Regions from separate parts of the Homo sapiens genome. Here all the other regions are linked to region 1. Evidence: promoter capture Hi-C in 16 types of primary human blood cells and fetal thymus (Javierre and others, 2016). All regions are on one chromosome and are shown on one strand. Each heading gives the region's core, a stretch centred on a gene start or on the middle of the fragment in contact. The rest is flanking DNA. Distances are from core to core; before and after follow the strand shown.

Region 1 (4,870 bases), core at 1-2,500:
GCTGTTACTTCCTTTGTGTTCATAATTTTTTTAAATCTCTATTTACTTACTTGACCTATGTAAACCAATCCATTGAGGGAGTCAACTGCAACACAAAATGTTGTTCCGGTAAAATATTCTGGGTGCTTAGGCCAACCCACATCCAGCCGGTAAAGAATTTTCTCAGTTCTCCAGGAAACTGCAAAAGTAAAGTTCCTCAAAACCTTAAACAAAATCAGACAATTCAGATTTAGTTTACCGTCTAGGTAAGAACAAAAAAAGGGCGGGGGGGCCGGGTAACAGGGCTTATTTTTAAGCATGCCTTGACAACTAGAAGTTTGCTGGACTGAAATAATTCCAAAGAAATGAGCTTAGATGCCTAAAGACCAACACGACCACAATACAAGTCTGCAAATTATTTGAGGATGTAGTAAGAGTTGGGAAAGAGGAAAATGGCGATGTAACATACACAAATTTTTAAACTCAAAGGGTCAAGGCAGTTTGGACCCAGGTGCAGGCTTTGAGACAAGCTACTGAGGGAACCAGGGCCTGCCACCTCCATGCCACGACCGTGGCGACGCCTCCCAACAGGGCTACCCGCACACCCGACAGTCATTTCCTCACTACCCAACTCACTGGAGAGCCACAAAAACGCGAATGCAAAACCAAAAATGCAAGAAAGAAGCCAGCACCGGCTACGCAGACCCAGAATCTCGCCATGACCAGACGGGAAGCCAGGAGAGGGAGGGTCCGCAGGTGTCTGGGGGAGGACCTGACAGCCTCAGGCTGCAACGGTTTGCAGCGGCACAGAGGGTCTGCCCGGGGCCCGAAGACCCTATCTCCGGTTTCCCCTCCCTGGATGCACGAGCTTTGAGTACGAAAGGGAACAGAGACCAGGGCGAATGAAAATCACAGAAGACCAGTTCCGGACTTCGTGTGCATTTCGGGGTCCCCGCCCTCATGTCAGGTGCTTCGGGCTGACCCAGTGACCACCCTTTCCCGCCCTCAGGGCAGTCCGCGCCGCTGACTTTCAGTGGCCACCAAAGTATGGGCGCCCGTAGATATGCCTTAATCGCTCGCCATTTATTCTTTTTAATCCAGAGGGCAAAATCAAAACATCGCACACTCAGACACGAGGTATGGTGGGGATGACATTCAAAATAATGACCGCTAGGCTTCGGGAAGGATTTTTGCCACATCCTATTCCTACCATCCAGGCATCCGCTATGGATGCCTATATTCCCACACCAGGACCCCACCTCTGGCTTTCAGGAAAGAGGGGCCCAAGCTGGCGGCGCAGTGTTGAGTTTACTTGGGCGCGACTGGCTTTATTGTAGGTCCCCATGAGCTGGTGGGGGCTGTAGGGGTAACCAGGCAGGGCGTCTGGCGCTGTTGGGGCTGCGTTTTTCCGGAGTCCCCCTATGCGAGGCCGTGCCCCTCTTCGCCCGGCTCCTGGTGCTCCCCAGCCGCCGGCCCGCTCCCGGAAGCTGCAGCAGCTGGTAACAAAGAGCCTGCCGGGCCGCCTGCTGCCGGGGCCGAGGTATCCAGGAGTCGGGCGGAGCGGCTGGGGATGAGCGCGAGCCGGACCATGCGTCCGGGTTCGCGGCGGTGAGGGTCGCGGCCGGCGGCCGAGGCGCAGGTGCGGGTCGAGAGACCGGCGCCTCCCTCCCCGCCGCCCGTGGACTCTGAGCGCAGGTGTTTCTACTCTGCCGGCCGCTCCACCTGGGAAAGCGCCTTCAAGAGCTACCTCTGGCGGCACCTGGCCCTCAGCTGCAGGGAAACCGCACTCAAACCTGCCGCCGAGCCCGGGTTTTTCTGCAAAACTCAGAGGACCTGGCTCTTGCCCGAGGTGCCCTGAACCATTGTGTGAATAAGCTGGGGAAGCCTGACTGGAGTGTTTTTTCTTTTTAATAAAAAGAGTTTTTCTGAATCTCAATTTTTAGAAATTTTTTTTGCGAAGTTTGCAATACTCTCTACCTCTTCGCATCCTCTCTTGCTCGTGGAGTCTTTTTCCTCCTCAGCTATAAATATTTTTTACTATCGGCGGAGCAGACCAGGGATGAACGTCTTTTAATTGCAAGTATAACTGTTAAAACCACGTCGGGATAGTAGTCAAGATGGATAAAAAGTCCTTTGAAATGGTGCTGGATGAAATTAGAAAGGTAATTAGACCGATTCCATGAATTATTTTATGAGATGAATTCTCGTGTTTTAGACTCTCTTTGAGGTACTGTATGGAGATTGTGCAGAATAAGGGTCCTAGGATTGCCAAATTGGTTTGAATTTTCACGTGTAATGGAGGAGTTTATATCTTGATACGTTTCCAGTACAAATAGAAATTAAGTTACGTTAACGCCAAATTTGAGACTCAGCACGGTGTCGTGGGAATTACATTTGTAAAGCCCTCGGTTCCAAAGCCGGCTTTACAAATCCGTAATAGCTCTGTACTTTTTGGGTAAGGGGTTTAATATTTTTGAGTTTATTGCCTCATCTTTCAGTAACACAAGAGTGACTGAAAACGAGAGGTAATACGCAGAAAGTTTCTTTTATGGTAGTTATTATGATGGGGTTTTCAAATCTAAGCATAAGGTAGAGTATATTTGTTGCGTTGGCCATGCAAAATTCGTGTCCTGATGGTAAGTGTGGCATTAAGTTTAAAGTCACGTTCTTAGGAATTGGCCGTCAATAACTTGAGCTTCAAAACTTTTTTCTCCTGCTTTCCAAGTTTTTGCTGCTTTTTGAGGCTGTTGTGTGGATCGCATTTCCCAGAGTGAACCAGACAGCAACAATTCTGGAAGGTAGTCTTGAGCCTAACAATATCTCAAGCACAAAAATACCGAGAAGTTACTTATTTTAAAATGTAAGGACTTGATGTACCATTGTTACATCAACACACGGTGCTTTCCTTCGGCCTTCCGGGCAATTATTCTTTCGTCAGCTGCATACCTTTACGACCCTTGACTGAAACGGAAGAAATTGTTGCCATGTGCTCTGGTGCTTATTTCAGTTTACAAAGCTATTATTAAAATTGTCTCTGGTCTTGCTGTTTTGCTTTGTTTTTATACAGCTTTTTTCTTTTTTCAAATTGACGTGTTTAAGTTTTCATATTTGATAATACTGAACATTCTTTTTTGAACAAGTTCTGCTTTTGCAAACCTAAGTGTCCAATTAATTTTTGAAATAAAATATTGGTTTGCTAATTATATGCCTAGAAATTTGTCACAATTTGTTCTTGGGCTGATTTTTAATTACTTTTCATGAGAAAATAATTGGTGAGTCCAAGTAGACCAGCAGATTTTTACTTTTGGAAGATACAGGGTCTCAGTGTGCATATTCTCTTCCTGGTGTCATAAAAACGTCACAGTAAATTCTAAAGAGGGGAATAGGAAATTTTCCAGATATGAAAGTGTTGTTCACATGAGATGGCAACTTAAGTCTGTATTTCTGGTCAGCAGTTAAAATATATCTTCTGCTGGCTTTGCCGAGTGATTAGACACATCAACATTGTCATGGTCTATTAAAATGGAATAAAATATTGGCATATCTAAATATGAGCATTACTACTGATTTTCTTAAAAATCGTTCTTTGTAAATGTAAGTCAGTTTAAACCAGGTCATCTCTTGAGTATCACAGTGAGTTTATATGATAGATAATACTGATTGTCACTACTGTCATTTAAAACAGAGGCATATAAGAAGCCACTAGCAGAAGAACTGGGAAAGGGAGTAGAAAGGGGGAAAAAGCAATGGTTAACTGATTATTCAAAAAGGAGGGAATGATAGCTATTAATTAGTGAGCACTTACTTTGTGAGCCTGTTTTTAAGCACTTTCTCCAGTCATTATTTGTTTTGATTCTCCTTACAACGCATGAGGTGTAGGCACTGTACTTCTTGCTTATAGCTGGTGGCCTATTCTCTGTGAGGTTAACTATCAGCTCAAGACTCCCTAGGTGGTAAGTTGGGGGCTGGGGGCAGTATTCAAACTATGCTTGCAGAGCACCATGCTGTCCTGCCTGGGGTTACAGCTGGGCCTCTCAGGCATTGATGGAAGAATTGAGATATGACTTGGCATCAGTACAATCCAAGACTTTGTTCAGAAACTTGTATTTGACTGTGTCCGATTATTACATTGATAATAAAACTCCTAGGAATACATTATTTAGAATGCCATTTTCTCCCTTTTCAGTGAATATTGAACTACTGAGCACCCAGGATATTTCAGTTGACTGGTCATAATACTTTCTCCTAGCAGAATGATATATGTGAAAAATATGAATATTAAAATTATTTTATAGTACAAGCAAAGGGATTAGTTCATTTTTAATGATTAGTGGCTACTGACTTAAGATAGCTGTTTCCATCTCTAAGCTGAGCAAATAGCTGCAAGGGGAGCATGTGTGATTTAGTGGGCTCTAGATAGTGCTGCATCAAAGCCACCAACTTCTCTCTCACCCACTGATAGATTCCGAAAAGGAAAGGAACCATCACTTACTGAATACCTGTTATATGTCACATCTAATGTCCACTATTATAGTCTTCATAGTAATTCTTTGAGGTTGGTGAATGGTGTTCCCTCTATGAATGAGGACGCTCAAAAGGAATTAAAATGCCTCTCAAAGTCTACACTGCCAGTTAGTGGCAGGCACAGACATTGAATTCAGGACTTCTTGCATTCTTATGTCCCTATAGAAATACTGAGAGCCTCAACTAGACCTTGTCTTATTCTTGCTTCTCTGTCACTTAGCACATAGTAGATATTCAATAATTGATGAATGAGTAACATCTGATATGTTTAATCTTAAAAATGACAATTTGGATTTGGAATGTTTTGAAACTCTTTAATTACATATTTAGGAATTCTAAATGTTGTGTATACTGATGTTGAATCATA
Region 2 (4,870 bases), core at 418-2,917, 7.9 Mb after region 1:
GTGACTATTCCGAGTTTTGGAGTCATTCTTCGTTGCCTGTTTTATTAGGGCAGCAAAACGCCTGTGGCTAGGGCGGGAGTGGGCGGAGGCAGGTTTGAGCCAATGGCACGGGAGCGGCCCTGTCGCTGCCATGGCAACGGCGGCCGTTCTCCGGGGACCGGCTGCCCATTGGGTAGAATCTTTCCAGAAGGCTCGAGAAGAAGGAAGCGGAAGTGGCACGTGGAGGGGCCGGTGGAGGCGCCGGTGAGTAAATGCCGCAGATTCTGGAAAGTTCTGATCAGTGCGATACATAAGGCTGAGGAAGTGGGACCTCCCCTTTTGGGTCGGTAGTTCAGCGCCGGCGCCGGTGTGCGAGCCGCGGCAGAGTGAGGCAGGCAACCCGAGGTGCGGAGCGACCTGCGGAGGCTGAGCCCCGCTTTCTCCCAGGGTTTCTTATCAGCCAGCCGCCGCTGTCCCCGGGGGAGTAGGAGGCTCCTGACAGGCCGCGGCTGTCTGTGTGTCCTTCTGAGTGTCAGAGGAACGGCCAGACCCCGCGGGCCGGAGCAGAACGCGGCCAGGGCAGAAAGCGGCGGCAGGAGAAGCAGGCAGGGGGCCGGAGGACGCAGACCGAGACCCGAGGCGGAGGCGGACCGCGAGCCGGCCATGTCGGTGGTGGGGTTGGACGTGGGCTCGCAGAGCTGCTACATCGCGGTAGCCCGGGCCGGGGGCATCGAGACCATCGCCAATGAGTTCAGCGACCGGTGCACCCCGTAAGTGGGAGTCTGCGAGGGTGGATGGGAGGAGGTTCTGGGCCCTTAGTGTGGGGACCCAAGATCGCGGGCTGGCTGTACGGATCACCGCGGCAAACGGAGGCGTTTGGGCAGCGGCGCACCCCTCCGTGGAACTAGGGACCAGCGACCCGGCCAGAGGAGGGATGGGGGGCTTGCCATCACAAATTGGAGAAGGGATTGTCTCAGGGATTCACGGGGGTGAGAGGAGTCCCAGAGTCGAGACTCTAAGGGTCGTCACCTTGTGCGGGCTTCCTATTGGGGGTTTTCAAAACCTACTGGGGGTCGGGCTGCGGCAAAGCCCGCAACTTCGCTCCCTTTTCTTGGCAGGCTGCAGCCTGCGCCTTCCGCGGCCGCCCCCGTATCCCCACCCGGCCTCTCTGAGCTGGCTGAGCCGCCTCCAGCTTGTCCTCCTCCCTTCGCGCATATCTTTGCGCACCGCGGAGCGGGGCTGCCGGCCTTTTTCTTCCGCATTGTGAATCTCGAAATGAACTGGAAGCTTCCAGAGCTTGTGTCGCTGCTTGTCCAGTGAGCAGGCGGATTGTTGTTAGCGACCACGGAAGCAGTCCTATGAAAGATTAGCCCACCTCTTTTTACCCAGTCTCTTCGTTGCTAACATTGTTGGCCTTAATGCCCGGGATCATTGTCGAAAGATGTAAACGTCTTTTTTTTTGCTCTTTGCCATTCATGAGGAATTGTAAACCGTATTTTTAAAATTAATTTTGCACAGTTTATTTAAAAGAGAATAAAAATTGCATACTTTTGTGCTAGGACGCCAAAAGAGGATGGATGTCGTCACTGAACTAAATATTCTATAGGAGCATAGGGTGGGCAAAGGGCAACATTTTAAAAAGCAAGTTTCGTGAAGGGATATTTTCGGACGAGAATATATACAAACATATCTGCATGTGCATTGATGAAAACAAATGATTTCATCTCAAGGAAAATACTGTACCTATTAATTTTTTTCAAATGTCCCAAGCTCAGGATGAAAAGTGCAAAATGAAAACATTGAACCTAAAGGTAGAATGAATGACTGGGGTAATACAATTATTTGGGTGCTGAGAACGTTTATGAAAGTTGAGTGGAAAATCTGAGGCAAAATATTTGGCAATGTTAGTAACGTTAGGAAGACTGTTCTGAGCAACCTGTACGTCTACCCCTGCAGATCTAAGTTTGTGTTTTGGTTAAGGTTTTTTTAATTGGAGTTTAGTAAGAAAGAAAACAGTATTTCAGGCTTTCATGCCTAGATACAGTTTATACTTTGTTCTGGTTGATCCAATAAAACAAAGAAAAGCTTTTCAGAGAAGAGAGTGGGAAAAAAAATTGTGTTATACAGGGACTACTGTGTGAAATCAAAGACAACAGGTATGGCCCTGAAAAATGTGAACTGAGGGCAGTATTGGAGTTCCCCTTAATATGTTTGTTAAACTATAATTGTGGTGGATTCTATTGTATCAGCTACTAATTGTTATTTAGTACAATTAATTTGATTCTCCCCTAGGAAAATGAGTAGATCCATTCTGCAAGTGTATGGTTATTCAGAGCTTACAGTGATGCTCTGATTTTGACGGTTTCTTGTCTAGCTTCTGCTTGGACACTTCTCTGGCTTTTAGGATGCTATTTTATTTAACACTTGCTCAGATAATATAGTTTGAGGATGTTTCTATTATAGCAAATTTAAACTTAAGGGTGGTACTTAATGCCCTCAGTATTTTCCCGTTTTGCTCATCTCGTTTACCATTACTCATACCTAAGCAGGTAGGAGTAACTCACCCAAAATTAGATTATATTTGAATTAGTAATCCAGAATTAGATAACTCCTCTAATCCAAAACCTAATTCACTTACCTTCTTCTCACAAGACTTTTTAAGCTAGTCTCTGCTCTGTTATTGTGCGGTTCCATTTCCATGGTGGCTGAGAAGGTTGTTTCACAGTTGTAAGTCACTTTCCATCTCTTCAAAACAGATTTGATGTAACTGATTAGTCACTCCTTTCCCTCGACATTTATATTCTGTTTTGCCATGGTACTTGTTGTGCATCATTTTTTTCTTTCTCCGGCAGAATCTCCCAGATGGGAACCTCTTTGTGCTCTTTAAACTTCAGAGGTGTAACTTGGGTTCATTTGCTTGCGTTTGCATAAAAACTTTTGATTCCTAAAGAAGCCGGTGGTATATCAGAACAAAAGTCGGTATGACAATGACATTTAGATTTGTACAGAGTTGGTGACTGAAAGGTAGAGTCACATCCTATTTTTTGTTAGTCGTGTGTAGGGTCAAATTAATAATACCGTTAACATATTTAAAACATTTTCAAAGTTAATGTTCGGTTCATAATAACTGGAACCTGGAGAATTCCTGAGCCACGAGCAGAGGTTTTTGGGGTAGTAGAACTGCCACCTAGGTTGGATCTCAGAGCAGCAATTAAGTGGAAGCCCCCTTTGAGTATCTGATGAAAGCTATAGACCTTAAAATTGTGCTATGCTTGTTCCCTATCCCCTAATGGGTAGGACATTTATGTTAGTATTTTTCTCTTATCAGTTTAAAATATCAACCTTTATGCTTTTTAATTTTTTGGAATATATTTTTTTCTAGGTCAGTCATATCATTTGGATCAAAAAATAGAACAATCGGAGTTGCAGCCAAAAATCAGGTATGTTCTTTAAGAGAATTCGGATCACTTTTTAAGGGGGGAGTTTTTAAAAGGAAAATCTCAAGAGACATATAAGAGGGTAAAGTGTGCCTAAGTTTATGTATTTTTGAGTTTTAAAAATGTAATTCAAGTATTCTTTATGAACCTTCAGATGATGACACTCTTTCCTTTCTGTTCCCTTTCCCTTGTTTTATTAAGATCGACTTTAACTTTCTAATCTGCCATCCTTAACTTTTTTTTTTTTTTTTTTTTTTTTTGAGATAGAGTCTCGCTCTGTTACCCAGGCTAGAGTGCAGTGGCGCGATCTCGGCTCACTGCAACCTCCGCCTCCCGGGTTAAAGCGATTCTCCTGCCTCAGCCTCCTGAGTAGGTGGGATTACAGGCGCGTGTCACCACGCCCAGCTAGTTTTTGTATTTTTAGTGGAGATGGGGTTTCACCATGTTGGTCAGACTGATCTCGAACTCCTGAGCTCGTGATCCATCTGTCTCAGCCTCCCAAAGTGCTGGGATTACAGGTGTGAGCCTACGCCTGGCCTGCTGACTTTAACTTTTAGTAACTTTTTGCTGCCTTTCATTTATCTAATTTTTAGAAATTATAAACAAGGCATTTTAAGTTCTTGTGAAGTTTCTCGTGATACTCATTTAAGAGATTCCTTTTATAGAAGGAACTTCTAAGAAATTATGTGTTTAAAAGCATTTTCAGGTTACTTAGTAATTAAGGTAGGACTGGGAGAAATTTTTGTCCAGACCTGTGCTGTTTAAAAAATATGGTAGCCATGTACTGTATTGAGCATTTGAAATGTGGCTCGTCTGAATCAAAATGTGAAGTATAAAATACACATGAGATTTTTTACTTTTTAATCGAATTGAAAAGTAAAGTACGGTATCTGATCAATTTTTTTCTGTTGACTACTTATTGAAGTGATAGTTCCTAAAATATATTGGCCTAAGTTAATTGAAATTAATCTAATCTCTTACCAGTTTTTAACGTGGCTGCTACAAAATTTTATGTAGGTAGCTCTCCTTTATGACTTACATATAATTCTGTTGAACAGCACTGATCTAGACAGACCCCTTGGAGGTGGAGAGAAAAACAGTAAAAGATACGTGAAATGCTCTTTGAGAGGCTCTTTGAAATAAAAAACATTTTTCTAAATACAGAAAATAGATTGCTAAGAAAGAAAATTTTGGATTAGATTGAGTACTGTATTATATATTATGGAATGTATTTAGTACTGACCTATTAAAAAATCAGGTCAGATTTGAAAACAAAAACATCTCTTAAAATGCTTATGTTTAATAAGAAATTGGCACTTTATCAAACTTATGAATCTGCTTTCATTAGAAAATGGTTTCATGTTTTCTAATCCTTTGAATATGTAGGTTGGATTTAACTTTATTTCCTTGTTACATTGGAAGAGAGAGATAACTAAAAGGGGTGAAAAAGGAAA
Region 3 (4,870 bases), core at 1,025-3,524, 5.9 Mb before region 1:
GGGAACTGTCTATCAACTGCTCGGAAATTAACTACATGTTCTAATGAATGGCCCCTCTCCAAATCTGCTTCCGAGTTATGCTCATTTACATCCCGCGTGCTAGGTTCTGTCCACCACCTAGAGTCCTACCTTCTTTTTGACATTTCTGTGACTGCCCTCACCAGAAGTGATCTTAATTCTCATGGAGAGAATTAAGAATTAATGCCTCTTAATTCTCATGGTGGTCATTATCACTCAGCATACCCTTGAATGCTGTCATCTGTGTTACTGTCCTTATTCATTCATTTGTTCAACAAATATTTATTGAATGTCTACTAAATTTCAAGTTTTGTTCCAGGCGGGGGATATAGTAGTGAACGAAACAGCAAAAATGTTTGTGCCACGGTAGAAAAGACAGACAACAAGCAAGATAAATGTAGCACACACACAGTATGTCAAATATCAGTATGTGCTAGTGAGAAAGTGAAAAGCAGGAAAACTGCAGGACATTTGCTGAAGCTTCAGATAGGGTAAACAGAGAAGATCTCATTGAGAAGATAATTTCTAAAGGACCTGGGGAAGGTGAGGGAGCAAGCCATGCAGGTGGCTGGAAAGCTCTTTCCTCCCCACACAAGTGCAAAGGCCTTGAGGTGAGGACATAGCTAGAGGATTAGAAGAATGGCAAGTGGAGCCTCGGTGCATGGGGAGGGAGGAGAATGAATGGGAGGGGGTGGTTGTCATGCAGGACCTTGTAGATTATAGTCAGGATTTTGGTTTTTATTCTGAGTGAGATGGAAAGCCACTGGAAGATTTTGAGAAGTGGCATGAGCTGATTTGTTTTAAGATTCCTTCTGCTTGCCTTGTTGAGAATAGGCTGCAGAGGTGGGGAGGTGGCGCACAGTCTAACCCAGGTGAGAGAGGATGGTGGCTCAGACCAGGGGAATGGGAGAAGTGATCCAATTCTGGGTCTATTTTCATGATGGAGCCAGTAGGATTTTCTGAGGGGTTGGAGGTAGGCTGAGAGAGAATGGAATCCAGGGTGATTCCAGGGTTCTGGCTTGGAACAATGGGGAGAATAAAGCTGCTATTAACTGGAATGGAGAAGATGCAGAGGGAGCTGGCTGGGGAGTGCGGTTGGGGATGGACTCTCAGGAGCTCAGCTTTAGCTATGTGAATCCTGAGGTCCTCATTAATTGCCCATGTGTAGATGCCAAGAAGGTTGCAGCTTTAGAGGGATAGGATGTTTTATGCCTCATGAATCTTCTAGCCTGGTTTGTTGATTGCATGAACCAATCAATTAACCAATCAGTGAACAATAGTGAAGCTCTATCTGAGTAGAGGTTGCAGGGGGAATTGATGAGATTTCTGTCTCTAGACTGGGTTGAGAGAGAGAAACATTAGTTTATTTTTGAACAGCCCCTATTTCTGAAAATGGATAGATGAGGAGGGAAGAAGGGACCAGGGACAGACATCTTCTCCGTTCCAATGTTAGCATCTATGAAGTCTTAGATCACAAAATGTTTATTTTTATTGGTTTAAGAAGATCCCATAACCTCTTCCTCATTCTCCTTTGAAGATGCCATCAGGCTTCAGAATGTATGCTGCCATTGTTGCTGAAGGCATTATCATTATGATTATTTATGACAGTGCCCTGTTTTATGCAATATGCTTATAATAGTAGGGGTAGATTTATTAAGGTATATGAAAATACATTAAGACTCCAGAGATGAAATGCCTGGGTTTGAATCCCGCATCTACTATTTATAAGTTGTCAGACTTTGGGCAAGTTACTTAACCTCCCTATGTTTCAGTTTTCTAATCTGTAAAATGGGAATAATATTGGTACCTATCTCATTGGGTCAGTGTGAGAATTAAATTGTTAATTATTGAAGTGTTTAGAATTATCTGGCACATAGTGAATCCTATATGTGATAGCTATTGTTTTTATATCAAGCACTGTCAAATATATATCGGGTAGTCATGATGAACATTAAACTTGGCATAATCCCTGGCCATGGACCTATTGAAGATTATTGAGATAGATCATCTCACGAGGAAAGAAGAAAATGAGTTTAGAAAGCTCACTCCACTCTGAACTACTGCTGAGAAGTCCAGAAATAAACCAGAAATACCTTTAACCTCCAATACAAGGTCCAACTTGATTTCTACCTAGCACCTCAGGAGCAAAGCAAATTAACTGAGGGTCTCGGCGGGCCATAATTTCAATATTTGAGCAACGGCAACATGGAACAAGAACCTACAATGGTGGGCAAGTTTTCCGGATGTCAGGCCATGAAGTGCTTGGACTCACAATTCCTAAGTGTGTTCTTGAAGAAAAACCAGGTCTGAGCCCTGGTAGGAGCACACAAATGAGGGTGAGTATGATGATGGGCTGGTGAAGCTCTTCCTGTCTTGGGCTATCAGATCAGGTGAAGGGAAGGTAGGGGAAGAAAGAGAGTGTGTGCCAGCGATATTAGGAGACAGGGATGTAGTTTCTTGTTCTTTGTTGTTGTTACTTAAATATTAAAATTATGGCCTTCTGAGACTCTCAATTAGTTTGCTTTGCCACTTCGGTGCTAGGTAGAAACCAAGACTATTTCTCTGAGATGGACTGATTCATTATTGGATGAATGAATGAAGCAAGCGATCAATCATGCAAACATGCACTGAGTGCTGATGATGTGTAAAGAAAGATGCTGTGGAGATATTTTCACCTAGCTGAGGAATAGTTCTCTCTTGTTATATGCTGATTTAAGGGGAAAAGTTACTTTTATAGGAGGATCCCCAAAGAAACCAAGATATTTTAAGAGACTCATTAAGTTGGTGCAGGAAGTCTTACATGAAAAAAATATATATATTAAAAAAAGATTAATTAAGTAATTATGCCCAGATGAAATGCCTGGATTTGAATCCTGCTTCTGTAACTTACTTAATCGCCTATGTTTCTGTTTTCTAATTTGTAAAATGGGAAGAATATTGGTACCTATCTCATTGGGCCATTGTGAGAATTAAATTGTTACTATATTAAAATGCTGATTCATTAAGTCATTATGTGTGCCAAGCACTGTGCTGGAAGCTGGGAATACAACAGAGTAAGACCCAGACTCTGCCATGAGGGAGCTTACTGTCTACCACAGGAAGGGAAACAGGGAACTCCATCCAACCTAATGATAATCCAGAATGAGCACCTCACCCAGCACTGAGCGTTCAAGGATGTTTGCCCTGAGTCACAGAACAAGTAGGAGTTGCTAGATTTGGCACAGAGGGGAGGGGCAGAATTCTATGATCTAAACAAGCCCTCGAGGAAGCTCTGTCATTCCAGTGGCCTCCTGAGATCAAACCCTATTTTAGAAACTGAACCTAGTGTTAGGCCATGAAGATTAATTCACACTGGTCAGCAGGGGCAGGTGCTGTTACTCAAGAGAGCTTTGAGGTTTAACCTTGTGCCATAGGCTGAGTTTGTGCTGGCCAGAGCTGTTCTTGGGAGAGTGGAATTTAATTGGTGCTTATTTGTGATGGCCTTATAAAGCATGACTCCTGGGCCTACTAAAGTGGAAACCATTCTAACTCCTAAATGACTGGCAAACACAAGCCTGAATCACACCCCAGATTGCTTTGGCTAATGGAGATGCCTGGCAAGTACAATGTGTTTGGGGCTTTTTTCCAGTATCAAATGGTGGATAAAATGGGACAGTTGCCCACTGAAAATCAGACCTAGATGCATGGGAACAGGAATAACTGTTTCTTGTGTCAACAAGAAGGCTTTTTTTTTGTGTGTGTGGAACTAAAGAAATGCAGCTCACTTACTGGTCTGGCCAAACTTCAAAAATTCATGTTTTTTTTTTTTTTTTCCTCCTCCCAGGAACATTTTGTTCCTGCTGGTGGTTAAAAGGTGGCAGCTTTCATATAGAAGTACAGCAGGAAGTATTTAAGTTAGATAAAAGGAAGGACTATGTGACAGAATGATTGAGTGCAGGACTGGGTTCCCAGGGGGATTACAAAATCTGATTTTTATTCATGGACTTTCCTACTAAATAACTGAAATAATAAGGGTGGCAAGACGTAAGCTTATATCACCATTTTTTAAAGGTCTGTGCTTTGGGATTCAGAGGAAGCGGGAGGGAGTGCCTTGTGAACAAGAGGACCTGAGGTGACTTCAAAGGCTGAGCTGGCCTTGGGATTGAGGTCGGGCTTGGAAAGAAGAGTGGGAGGGTGGTGTGGAGCAAGGTGGAACAAAGGAACGGGAAGGACAGAGCAGGTCGGGTGATCTGGAATGTGGCCCCTCTGAAGAGGGCTGCGGCGGGATAGTATTAGCAGGCTATGTCAGGGCTGGATTATGGAGAGCCTGGAAAGCTTGCCCAGAGAATTTAGATTTTACTCAACAAGCAACGAGATGCCATTTTTCCAGGCTTTTGAGCAGGAACAGGAAATGATAGAAACTGTGCTTCAGGGATCATGGGCTTTTAGCGACTGAAGGGGATTTATTGTCGTGTGGTTCATTGTTGCTCAAACTCTACTGGCATCAGAATCATTTGGAGGGGGAAGTCCTTGTGAAAATTCAGATTCTCATTTGTAAGTCCTGGGTGGGTGGGGCTGGGAATCTGCAGGTGAAAAAAGCCACTGACGATCCTAATACCAGTGATCTGAGGCCCACACGGGGCAAACACTGCTACCCCCTTCTGTGAGGCCCTGTCCAAGAGGCCCAGGGAAGCCTTTGAGAAACCCACAGAGTACCACTGAGAAAAGGAGTCAGCCCTAAAACAAGTTTAGGCCCAGAGAGCTGGAAGCTGACATTGGACAATGCCAGTTGAGTAGGAACTTCTGTGCCCCACCCCCACTTTTTTTTTTTTTTTTTAGACAAGGTCTTACTCTGTCGCCCAGGCTAGAGTGC

What was found. Contacts are between HindIII fragments. The CHiCAGO score rates a contact against its expected background, and 5 or more counts as called.
Region 2: a fragment that was not itself captured here is called in contact with the fragment with the promoter of PROSER1 in region 1 in 1 of 17 cell types (naive CD8 T cells); the score reaches 5.6 in naive CD8 T cells.
Region 3: a fragment that was not itself captured here is called in contact with the fragment with the promoter of PROSER1 in region 1 in 1 of 17 cell types (total CD4 T cells); the score reaches 5.2 in total CD4 T cells.

What each region holds. Positions count from the first base shown.
Region 1 is chr13:39,034,469-39,039,338 of GRCh38, reverse strand. PROSER1 (proline and serine rich 1) reads left to right here and starts at 1,250. Exons shown (of 13, transcript NM_025138.5): 1 at 1,250-2,141. The coding sequence starts at 2,097. NHLRC3 (NHL repeat containing 3) reads right to left here and starts at 883. Exons shown (of 7, transcript NM_001012754.4): 1 at 616-883; 2 at 51-203. The coding sequence starts at 699. RefSeq lists a silencer at 1,540-1,769 and an enhancer at 2,912-3,021. The HindIII fragment of the contact is 10,591 bases long and covers 1-4,870 here.
Region 2 is chr13:31,157,355-31,162,224 of GRCh38, reverse strand. It overlaps HSPH1 (heat shock protein family H (Hsp110) member 1), which reads left to right and starts at 321. Exons shown (of 18, transcript NM_006644.4): 1 at 321-749; 2 at 3,362-3,419. The coding sequence starts at 643. RefSeq lists enhancers at 195-314, 445-524, 136-681, 682-1,227. The HindIII fragment of the contact is 798 bases long and covers 1,269-2,066 here.
Region 3 is chr13:44,920,991-44,925,860 of GRCh38, reverse strand. It overlaps LOC107984619 (a long non-coding RNA gene), which reads left to right and starts at 881. Exons shown (of 2, transcript XR_001749860.1): 1 at 881-2,354. The HindIII fragment of the contact is 3,548 bases long and covers 501-4,048 here.